Linked DNA regions of Homo sapiens: all the other regions are linked to region 2. Evidence: promoter capture Hi-C in 16 types of primary human blood cells and fetal thymus (Javierre and others, 2016). All regions are on one chromosome and are shown on one strand. Each heading gives the region's core, a stretch centred on a gene start or on the middle of the fragment in contact. The rest is flanking DNA. Distances are from core to core; before and after follow the strand shown.

What was found. Contacts are between HindIII fragments. The CHiCAGO score rates a contact against its expected background, and 5 or more counts as called.
Region 1: a contact is called between the fragment with the promoter of LARP1B here and the fragment with the promoter of HSPA4L in region 2, in 1 of 17 cell types (megakaryocytes). The highest score is 7.6, in megakaryocytes.
Region 3: a fragment that was not itself captured here is called in contact with the fragment with the promoter of HSPA4L in region 2 in 1 of 17 cell types (endothelial precursors); the score reaches 5.2 in endothelial precursors.

Annotation. Positions count from the first base shown.
Region 1 is chr4:128,059,642-128,063,288 of GRCh38, reverse strand. LARP1B (La ribonucleoprotein 1B) reads right to left here and starts at 1,977. Exons shown (of 20, transcript NM_018078.4): 1 at 1,888-1,977. RefSeq lists enhancers at 895-1,753, 1,754-2,612 and a silencer at 1,071-2,570. The HindIII fragment of the contact is 16,596 bases long and covers 1-3,647 here.
Region 2 is chr4:127,780,957-127,784,499 of GRCh38, reverse strand. It overlaps HSPA4L (heat shock protein family A (Hsp70) member 4 like), which reads right to left and starts at 2,178. Exons shown (of 19, transcript NM_014278.4): 1 at 1,843-2,178. The coding sequence starts at 1,949. RefSeq lists enhancers at 1-16, 1,428-1,507, 1,116-2,108, 2,008-2,157 and silencers at 2,298-2,367, 2,648-2,817. The HindIII fragment of the contact is 4,318 bases long and covers 1,652-3,543 here.
Region 3 is chr4:128,160,840-128,164,897 of GRCh38, reverse strand. LARP1B (La ribonucleoprotein 1B) reads right to left here. Exons shown (of 20, transcript NM_018078.4): 12 at 2,581-2,704. Among named protein-coding and RNA genes, the nearest start is that of LARP1B, 100 kb to the right of the region's middle. The HindIII fragment of the contact is 1,816 bases long and covers 1,435-3,250 here.

The DNA.
Region 1 (3,647 bases), core at 728-3,227, 280 kb before region 2:
CGCCTGGCTAATGATCGTATTTCTAGTAGAGACGGGGTTTCGCCATATTGGCCAGCCTGGTCTCGAACTCCTCACCTCAGGTGATCCGCCCGCCTCGGCCTCCCAAAGTGCTGGGATTACAGGCGTGAGCCACCGCGCCGGCCCATTTTTACTTTCTTAAGTTGCAGTTACTACAATCAAAATAAAGCACCGACGGCCATACAGCATTGGTCAGCATTCAAATATAGTGGCATAATCTTATCTCCTCTAAAGGGAAGGAGAGCTGACAATGTTAGAAAACCATTTACCTAACGTGCAATCCACGCTCGCATGTCAACTATCCTATTTCAATTATTTTCCAGCACACTTATAACTTAAAGCACTTTATTTTTTTTAATTATACTTAAAGTTTTAGGGTACATGTGCACAACGTGCAGGTTACACATGTATACATGTGCAGCCATGTTGGTGTGCTGCACCCATCAACTCGTCATTTAACATTAGGTATATCTCCTAATGCTATCCCTCCCCCCTCCCCCCATAAAGCACTTTAAAAACCACATTTAAAGTCTCATTTTTAATATGACTGCTCAGCAGTGTTTTGAAAACCTTTTTTCATCTTATTTCACAAAAGACTACAATCGCGCTTCCACTTACGAATAAATCCCCTTGCTCTGACTTGCTTCAATCCTTTTATGTAAAAAAAAAAAAAAAAAAGTCTACCAAAACTTTCCCATACGAAGCACTGCAGTATCTAAAGTTAGCTACTTTCCCAAGTCACTAACACTGGGGACAAAACACAATCGCAACCGCGCCAGCAGGGATGCGCCGCCAAGCTACCACCTCCGTGCCCCCATCAGGCAAGGAGAACCTGAGGTCCCACCTCTTCCTGCCGCTCCCTTCCCAGATGCCCATGTCTGTAAATAGGCAGAGTGAATGACACCTTGGAACAAATTACCTCCGACTGACAGGGAGGGGAGGCCTGCCGTTACCCGGGCCTGGTGCCCGCTACCGCCGCCACGCGCCGGCAAGTCCCGCAAGTCGCCCCTGCCCGCACCCTGCCAGTGCCCAACGCAGAGCAACCACAGACCTGCCTCCAGGGTTTCCAGCGGGGGCGGTGGCGGACCTGTCGTGTCTGGGGACAGGTGCTGGGGAGGCTTTTTGGTCCAGGGATTTCCCTTAGGCGGCAGCAGCGGCGGCTGCCGCTTTTCCGCAGGGCCAGCTGCCACCTCTTCCCGGGCGTCCTCGGCCGGCGGATCCCGCAGCAACGGCGGCAACGGCGACGGCGGCGGCGGTGGCGGTGGCGGCTCCCCGCCGAAAGGGCCCCCGGGCCCACGCGCCTTGTGCGCCAGGTGCAGCGCCAGGGGCCTCACGGGGACAGCCGCCTGGGGCACGCTGCGTCCCAGCACCAGCGCCGGCGACGGCTCTCCCCGCGCCCCAGCGCTAGTGGCGGCCGCGGCCCTCTCCTCCCTCGCCGCCTCTTTGCCCTCACATTCGGGCGGGGGCGGCTGCTCGGCCGGCCGGTTCGCCGCGGCCAACAGCGACTCCCTCTCAGCAGTCACCGCGGGCGGATCCTCCCGAGAATGGGCGGCGGGCATCGGGGCGCGAGTAGACATCGTCCCTCTGCCCCAGCCGCCCCAGCCGGGGTGGCCCCGAGGCCAGGGAACCCGACTGCCCGTCTCTCCGCCGGGACACCGGCCGGCTCCAACTGGGGACAGACAACCCGAGAGCCCGGCGGCCGTGGCCGCCGCTGCCGCCGCCCGCCGAGGCCGCGCAGCGCCCGGCGTGACGCCCCTCCCCGCACCGAACGGAGCGCCAACCGCCCGCCGGCCCCGTCCTCTCCGCGACGCACGCCCCGAGCCCGCCACCACGCGCCGGGAGCCGCAGCCGGGAGCCGCGAGCCCTCACCTGGCGCAGGGCAGCCGCGGAGGCGCAGCACGCCGAGGCCGAGGAGCTTTACCCGAGTTGGGGAGGCGCGAGCAGCCAAAGCTGGTAACTGCCCGCGGAGGCGTGGAGACGGCGAAGAGGGGCGGCCCGAGAGCACGGGGCGGGGCCTCCCTGAGGAGCGTGACGTGGCTACTCACCGGGTCCTTCTCTCGCCGGGCCTCCCGCGGGAGCTGACGGATTCGCCCGCCCGGGTGCCGCCCGGCCCGAGGGTCTGCCCCGCCCCAGCTGCCCTCCGAGTGCGAGGGAGGACGAAGGGGACGACTCCCGGCTCACTGGCTGAGGCCGCCCCGACTGCAGGCTCAGGGGCGGAGCGCGCACCAGGCCTCTGTGGCTCGCGGCTGGCTCGCGGCCTGCCCCCGCGGCGACGGCGGCCAAGGGCCTGGGCGGGCCGCGCACATGGCGCTGGGAGGACCGAGCGCTCGATTTGCCCTTAGGCCCTAAAGCTGGGTCGCAGCTAGGCTAAGGGAGGGGACGCGGTGTCGACCCCCGGCCTGGGGCAGCTCCCAAGTGAAGTGGGCTCCGCGGCCCGGCCGCTTGGCCCGCTGGCGCCCGGCGCCTCCCCCAGGTGAAAGTTGCCTCCTGGCGCCTCGGGGCACCGCGATCACCTGTAATCTTGAGCCACGTCCCAGATGAAGGGGGAGTTACCTCTCGGTAACTGTTTAGGAAACCTTTGCCCCAGCGTTCGGCTTAGTGCGCTTCCCCGCCCGCATTCCCACCCACCAACTAAAAGAGTTCTAAAGCGTTCCTGAGTAAATTAAATAGTATTTCGCCGGCTTTTAAAATTTTTTGTTACCTGTTTCTTTAATTTGGGTAAATAGCACTTAATTACAAATTAACCATATTCCCAATAGGTTTTTTCTTCCTGGAATGGATGTTAAAATGGTACAAAGACGTTTTGATAATAAATCGGATACGAGCTTTCTACTTGGCACTCACATTCACTTAGAGATGATACTCGTTTCATTTTTGAGTCAGTGTTTGTGTCCTGGTGCAAGGTGGCTGAGAGCAGGTTCCGCCGCTGATTTTTTTCCGAGCCCCCCACCAACCCCATAGCCTTGTTAAATAAATTATCTGTGCTCGCCTTATGTTTGGGCTTTCAACCCCCACCCCCCACCCCACGCCCAATAAGTCGCTTCAATTACATTCAACTTGACGTTAATATTTTTTGCTTACTCAAAAGCCGTATTCGGCACAAATAATTTTCCTAAGGCTAATAACCTATTCATACATAACAGCTATAAACAATAAGGGTTTTCTTGTTTTCCGTGTCAGTGATCTCCAGTTTGCCCAACCCTAAGCAACCTGGCGAACCTTGTTGCAATTAAAAGGGGATTGTACTTCCACCTATATTCCCATCCATCTTTACTAGCTCTGTTATTAGTGGCGCTTTGTATTTTTTATTGGTGGTGGTGATGGTGGTGGTGGTGGTGGTTTGAGACAGAGTCTCACTCTATTGCCCAGGCTGGAGTACAGTGGCGTGATCTCGGCTAACTGCAACCTCTGCCTCCCAGGCTCAAGAGATGCTCCTGCCTTAGCTTCCTGAGTAGCTGGGATTACAGGCGCGCCACTACCACCCGGCTAATTTTTGTATTTTTAGTAGAGACGGGGTTTCATCAGGTTGGCCAGGCTGGTCTTGAACTCCTGACCTCAAATGATCCACCCGCCTCGGCTTCCCAAAGTGCTGGGATTACAGGCATGAGCCACCGCGCCCGGCATTTTTT
Region 2 (3,543 bases), core at 929-3,428:
CACAAATCAGAAATATCACATTACTTCTCAACCACACAGAACCAGCGAATATGCCTAAGTACAATAACAAAGAGACTTTTAGAAGACTCTAGAAGCCCACTTTTTAAAGAACTAAGTCTGGCCGGCCAGGATCTTTAAAGAATCACAGGTTCACTCACTGCTAAAGAGATTTCTCAGCCTGGAAATGCAGATCGATCTTTCTTACTGTTCTGGTTTCTGATCTTTTAGGATATGGCTTTAAGGACTAAAAGAATGTCCACCCTACCTCTCAGTTTTTTCTCTATAGGTTGAGAGTCAATGAAGCCAAAGATTGCTCCCATTTTTAACCCCTACTCTGCTGAAGGTGGAGAGTGGAATTTCCGGTCTGTTTCTGGCGAAAGCCAGTATTTGTTGTGGCTTAATATAAAACCTTGTAGAGACGAATTCATCGACTTCACAGTTACTGTTTCGGCCTCTCACTGTGCATAAAAGCCAGAAAAAGATGTAAAAAGTAGAAGAGTTCAAACATTATTGAGGATTACCTTATCTATGCCCATGTATTGAAAATATAAACGTCCAAAACGTTTAAAATTTCAATAGAAGAAACGTGTACATCTACGAAAAAAGGTATAAAACCTTCTAGAATCTTCTTGGAAAGAAATCAAAGCACAGACTGCTTCAAGTGAGCTACTCTTCAACATCTTTTTGCCATATTTTAAAGCTTTCCATAGAATAGTAAATGAGGCATTTAAAGACCATTGGACACTGACCTTGTTTTAGTATAGTTAAGGTATTATATTTTGGACCATTCAGAACGGTCAAATTAAGATGCCAAATTACCTTTCCATAAAAAGTAATATAGGTTTCATACAGTTGGTTTCCTCATAAAATTACCAGTAACAGCAGCCTATAAGCAGCAACTAGTTTTTCATATTTCAGAATTACTTCATTATATTCCTTGCCAACAAACTTCCCAGGCCAGAGAAACAACGGAACATGTGGAAACATGTTTCCATGACATAACGCCGCTCCTCCTAAGCCTTTCATTAAGCGTTCATAATAGAATCACTCCACAGTCATGTTTATACGGGACAGCTGCCCCCGACTCCGGCAATTCACTCTGCAGAAACACGCTTTTGGTCCGACCCAACCCCGCCGCATTCCAGCAACTGACGTAGTTACCAATGCACAAGGCCAGTGACTCCCATCCCGAGGCTCTCCCTATCAATGCACCATTGACCTGGCCCTGTAAACCGGCTCCATTACCTGCAGTTCTCAAGGGCACTGGGTTTTGTAAAACCCCACATGCCTCACTCCCCGCCCTTAAAAAAAAAAAAAAGGCTTTCGGGGCCAGATGAACCTGCAATTCATCTCTGACGTGTGCAGCCGAAGCTGACTTTTTACTTTTCTGAGAAAAAGCTGTCACCCAGAGGGACGGGGAAAGGAAGGAGGGCAGCTGGCGCGGGGCCGATAATCCCACGTAAACCTCGTTAGAGGCAACCGGAGATCTTTCTCAATATTCCGGACGCCAGGGGCTGTCCCACAGCAACCTCTTCCTCGCAAGCAAAAGAGGCGTTGGGGGACAGCGGCACGAGGCAGGGGACGTGCGTAGGTACAGAAAAGAGAGCTGCGCAAACTAGTGCGGTCCCTCGTCCTTGAAGGAAAAGAAGCTTTGCGGGGCGAGGAAGTCCGACTGCCACCCGGCGGTCTCTAGGGACTGCGGTTGACGGGTTGCACCTGTCATCTCGGGGTTCGGCGCACGTTAGGGGAAAATCCGAGGAAGCGAGCAGACAGGACAAACGTTAAGGACGGGAGAGAAAAACGTTTCTTAGGGTCGAGGTGATGCTCAGCAGAGGCACTTACGGGGTACACCTGTCGCTGTACTCATTGGCGATGGTCTCGATGCCGCCACTTCTCGCGACAGCAATGTAGCAGTTGAGAAAGCCGAGGTCAATGCCAACCACAGACATCCCGCCGCGTGATGGTCGGGCTGCTGGTACTGAACCCTTCGGTACGGGAACCGTGTCCTCTTCTGGGCTATTGCTGCTGGGATTGCGACTCCTACCAGAAGCAAACGAGAGGGGACCCCAAGTCGCTAAGCAGAAAATCTAGGGCAGGGAGTCGGAAACCCGCGGAAGGAGCAGAGGCCGTCAGCGCCGCAGCCTGCACCGCGTCCCGCAGCCTGGGTCTTTCCCTACTGCGGTTCGGCCGCCTCCAACCGGCGGTTACTGGGACCTGCGCCTGCGCGCTCGGCTGCCCGGGAGGCGCGCGAGCCTCCGCTCCGCGCCCGAGCCAGCTCCGGGCCCGGACTTCGGCCGCTTCCGTCAGCACTCGGGCAACGGCTGCCCAAGAAGCTGCGGGTTCGAGAAAGATCTGGAAAATGGAGGCTGCTGAGCTATCCGGGGGCGGGAGAAGCGGGAAGGCGGGGCGGGGAGGATCGGGGAAAGGAGGCTAGGCACATTGGCTTGCTCGCCCTCGCTCGGCAGTAGGACGTCGGGCGGTCGGGCTAGGTGAGAGGCAGGCGACCGGCCGGCCCGGGGCTTTGCGAACGTGTTTTGAGGCACATTTTTGGGTTGTTTTGGCAACCGGAGGCGTGCTTGTCACGGCGGCAGGATGCTGTCCTGGCTGGCGGGCGCCGCCCCCTCACCCCCTGCCCTCAGAAGGGCTCGCCCGCAGGCCTCGCCTCCCCGAGGGGCCCATGTGCAGCCCGGCGCCCTCCCCTTGTGGCTGGAGGCCCGCCGCGCCCGGCTCTGTGAGGTGGCGCGCATTGTCCGACGTCCGCCGCTCCGCCCTGTCCAGCCCCGGGGGAGCTGCCGAGCCCGGGACAGACTCTTGTGCGAAAGCGGGATGAGCACATGTTAGGTTTTTTTCTTTTTTCATCAGCAGGATTTGAAATATCAAAAGTCAAACTTCTGTCAAGAAATAAGATCACACTGACAACTTTCCCTCCACGTACCTTTCCTCACACCTTTCTAAAAGATGCTGGCCCCGCCGCTGACCCTTGTCTCTGGAAACCAGTTTTACAGGAAAGTGACCTTAATTAAGTGTGCCACTCACACCAGCCAAGTCTGTGCTTTAGCCTCCAGCCGCTGCCCTGTGGTCCTCAAAAAAGAGCCCAGTGTGGTCCAGCGCCCTCCCTCTTGGTTTGATCGGCATGTGTTGCCTGTCTGTAATTAACCAAGTTTTATGTTACACTTAAGAAATTTGGCTGTCTTGTTGCTTTTCGTTCACTTTTACGTGTGTGCCCTGTTCCTTCTCTGCCAGTCCTTGGTCTGTTCCCTGTTCCTCCCCGTCCTCTTCATCTAGTCTCTGTTCCTTCTCATCCAATTCTTTGTGTGTTTTCCTGTTCCATTTTGGTATCCATCTTGAAAACAGGCGTGTTTTTTTGTTTGTTTGTTTTGTTTACTAGATTCTTTAGTATTCTGATTATCCCTAGTTGTCCACTTCTTTAAATAACTTAGATTTTTTACTATTAATAATGTTGCTACAGCAGCAGCAGCAGCAAGGGTGGCTATAGTTCCTGCTGCTGTTAGAATGAACGTGAAATCCATTTTCAAGGGCAAT
Region 3 (4,058 bases), core at 1,093-3,592, 380 kb before region 2:
TATGACTACACCACATCTTATAATACATTCTACTATAACTGGGCATTTTTTAGTTTTCATTTGCTTTTTTCTATTATGAACAATGATACTACAAATGTTCTCTTGGTAAACATTTGCAACAGTATGCCCAGGCTGGTCTCAAACTCCTGGGCTCAAGTGATCCTCCTGCCTTGGCCTCCCGAAGTGTTGGGATTATAGGCATGAGCCACAATGGCCTGCAACAGTATCTCTTGAAATGAAACTGCTGGGTTATAATATGGCGTATTGCTATGGTTTTAATTGGAAAACCTCAGTAAAAATAGCCTCTTTTCATATTTATTGGCCATTTGGTCTTCCCAAATATGAAACTGATGTTCATGTTTCATTTACTACTTTTTCTATTCATGTTTGCCATTTTTCATATTAATTTTTAAGGTTTTAGATTTCTATGATATTAATTCTTTGTTAATGTCATGCAATGCCAAATTTATCTCCTTATTTGTGACTTGTATGCTTTCTATGATGTGCAAAGGAATATACATTCTCAATTTTAAAGTATTCAAATTTAACAAGGCAAAAAATCCAGCAATTTAACTGAACAGCCCTAGTGGGACACACTAAGAACTTTAAAGAAAGCTTTAAAGTATGAAGTTTTTAAAAGTTTACAGTTTAAAGAACTCTAAAAGAAGTTACCTTTCAGTATTTATAATATTATTATTTAATGTTATTGTTATTCTGGAACTATTATATCATAGGATTAGCAAATAAATAATTATGTTACTGTGGTTAGGAAGAAAGATTTTTTATATATAAGTAAAAAGCAATACAACTACAAAATCAAAGAAATTAAAATTAAAACCTATAATCTTAAATTTAGACAGAAAATATCAACATGAATACGTAATATATTTTTCTCCTTAAAAAATTTCCTAGCTCTTTCTATTCAAAAGGCCTAGAAACAAGGACCAACTGAGTAGCAGATCCGGTACTGACAAAGCTCAACCTTGGTGGGGGCTCAACCTTCTGTGGGGTGGGAAACATTAAAGTTAACAGTCCAACTCCATTATTACTGAGCAAGAAAATGAAAGGTGGCTTTAGAGCTAAAAGTCAATAAACTGATAACTGGCATAGGTATCAATAATAATAATAATAACTGTAATAGAATGAAACCCATCTCATGTATTTATGAGTTCACAATGATCATTTAAAAACAAACAAACAAAAACTTCATTAGTCACCAGCGAAGAATGTTAAGGAACCAGCTAGTACTTTGAAACTAGTAAACAAAGGGAAATAATTCAGCACTGACTCACTTTCCTGTAAGAACTCTATCTCAGAATAAATAAATATTCTGGGGAAAGTTCTCTTTATAAAAGTATTCTACCTATTAAGGTAAGACGTAATGATTAAAAATAGAATCATCACTATTTTGCAACCCCTAGTAAAATAAAAGCTTCACTCACTGATCATCAATGACTGCTAACATTACAAAAAGAGACAATAGAGCATTATGTATCTCCTAATAGTATTCAATACTACATATGACATATTCTTACAGAGATTTGAGTCTTAATCTAATCAAGTCTCTATGCTGAACTAACAGTTATAGATAATTCAGGACTAGAAAACAGGTTAAATGAAACCATGGGGATGCAATCAGCAAAATTCAGAATGTGAAAAATTCTACAAGACAAACAACCCAGTTTCTTCAATACCAAATTGCAAGGACCAATAAATTATAAGGCAAAAAATAGTAGAAACCTGTAGACTAAAAAAGACATATCAATCTATTGCAATCTATTTGAAGAAACTGGAAAAAAAAAGTGATGAATGAGGAAATTTGAACACTAGATATCTAACGTTAAGGAATTACTGTTAATTTTAGATATGATAATGTCCTGCTATTTATGTGTTAAAAGATATAGCCCTTATCTTTTTAAAGACACATACAGAAATCTTTAAGGACAAAAAAATATGAATCATGTGATTGAGAATTTGTTTAAAAATAATCCACAGGGAGGTATAGGAGTTACTGGAGTCGAGACAAAATTGGGTATGAGATGATTAAGTATAGCAGGTACATGGGAGTTTTATTATAAAATTCACTCTATCTTTGTATATGTGTGACTTTTTATAAATCATTTTTTTAACCACCTTCAGGAAAAGGCTATAATAAAATCAGTTATACTTGTCTGAAATGTCAGATTCAATTTATGGATCTCCCAATGTATTTATTTACACTCTCACACAGAGCTAAGCCCTTAAAACAAAAGAATGACTCTAGCGCATTCTAAGGATCAGTGAGTCAGTGAAAAATTTTATTTTGGGAAGAGAAACATTCCCAGCAATCTTAAAATCACATCAGATACATAAAGAACCAACAAATTCTGCCTACTTCTAAGTAAGCCTCTGGCTTTGAGCATAATCTGGTGTGATAATAGAAGTTCACAAAAGGATAAAAGTTGAGTTTTAAAATTCTAGCATTTTACCATTTACCTAATGATTTTCCACAAATAAAGAAAAAAAAGGAGCAATTTTTAAAAACAATTCAGAACTGCTTTAATACTATTCAGACACTTACACAAAAGCAGATTTACATACCTTGCCTGGACTGTGAAGGTGCTACAGGAACTTCTTGGTTTGGCTCAAAAGGAAGTTCAGGTGTTAGGTTTTCAAACTGCTCTTTACTAATGAGATTTAGCTTCTTAAAGTTCTCAACTTCTTGCTGAAGTAGAATGGAGGAATCTAATTACTAAACTGGCTAACAGAGTAACCAACAGACAATAATTGATACCAACCTCAAAAAAATGAACTTCTAAAACAGGGATTAATTACAATGGAGTGAAAAAGACGTTCTAATAAAGAGTCTAGCATTATACTTAATAACAACATTCAGAATCTAAGAGGCATATAACACCCTAAAATATTATAATGATTTTATAATTAAAAAACATTATAAGACCACACATACTAATCATTAATTATTTGTTGAGCATTTACATACAAGACTACCAGGTATTACAGACGTTACAAAGTAATCTAATACATGTTCCCTACCATTAAGGAATTTATATGTTAGATGAAAAGGAAGAAATGAACACATAAAAATAAATAATATTAGGTAGTATGTGAAGAGCGATATTGGTGTAAGAATTACGATCATCAGGAAGCCATCACAGGAGAGATGGGACAAAAGCACCTCTTGAAGGATGAGAATTTAGAGAAAGGGAGAAACATTCTAAATAGGTAATGAGAGCAAAGATAAGAAGCTTGGAAAAAGCAATGTGTTTATTACAAAGTAATTAAGTGACTAAGAAAATCTGTGTAGAACCAGTGGCAAAGAGGACTGATGAGGAAGTTGGAGAAAGCTACTAGAAGACCTTTAATACTGGGTCAAGAAGATTTCACTTTGTTTTATAATAATGGGATGCATGTGATAAAGATAAATCTGGATGGCCCTGGATAGCTGCAGCAAAGAGACTCAGTATATTTGAGTTGTTAGCTCAAAGGAAGAATAGACCCCTCCCTGCCTCTGGGGTTCTGGAGGCTTCCCCTTTGTAACTACTATTGCATAGTCACTTAAGTGTTTCCGGCCCTGACCTACAAATGTGTGGAGCATTACAGAGGGTAGAGGTCATTCTCTACTGGAAGTTCACTTGGCCACAGGTGAACTTAAAGGTTGAACCCTAAAGGTTGAACCCTATGGTTCACCCAGGTGAACCATAAAGACCCTCTATGTCTGGCCTAAACTGTGAGATAAAAAAGGAGTTTGAGGGACTGCTTACACTCCACTATTTCTTCTAAGTTTTTCCCAATAAAACCCTATATCACATCTACTCCACATGGTACTAATGGGTACATGAATCTTTACAGGGCAACATCCAAAGCGGGTTTAAGCAAGTAAAAAACATAAGAAAGAATTTTTCGGGTTGAAGCAAATTTAAAACAGGAAGGAAATTAAATATCATTACAAAATAGTTGTAGCTTGCTCTTAATAACAAAAGAATCTTTTCCTTCTGTCTTCAAAGATGAAGTCACTTGTCAGCTCAAACCATTTATTAAATCCCAATGTTAGCCTT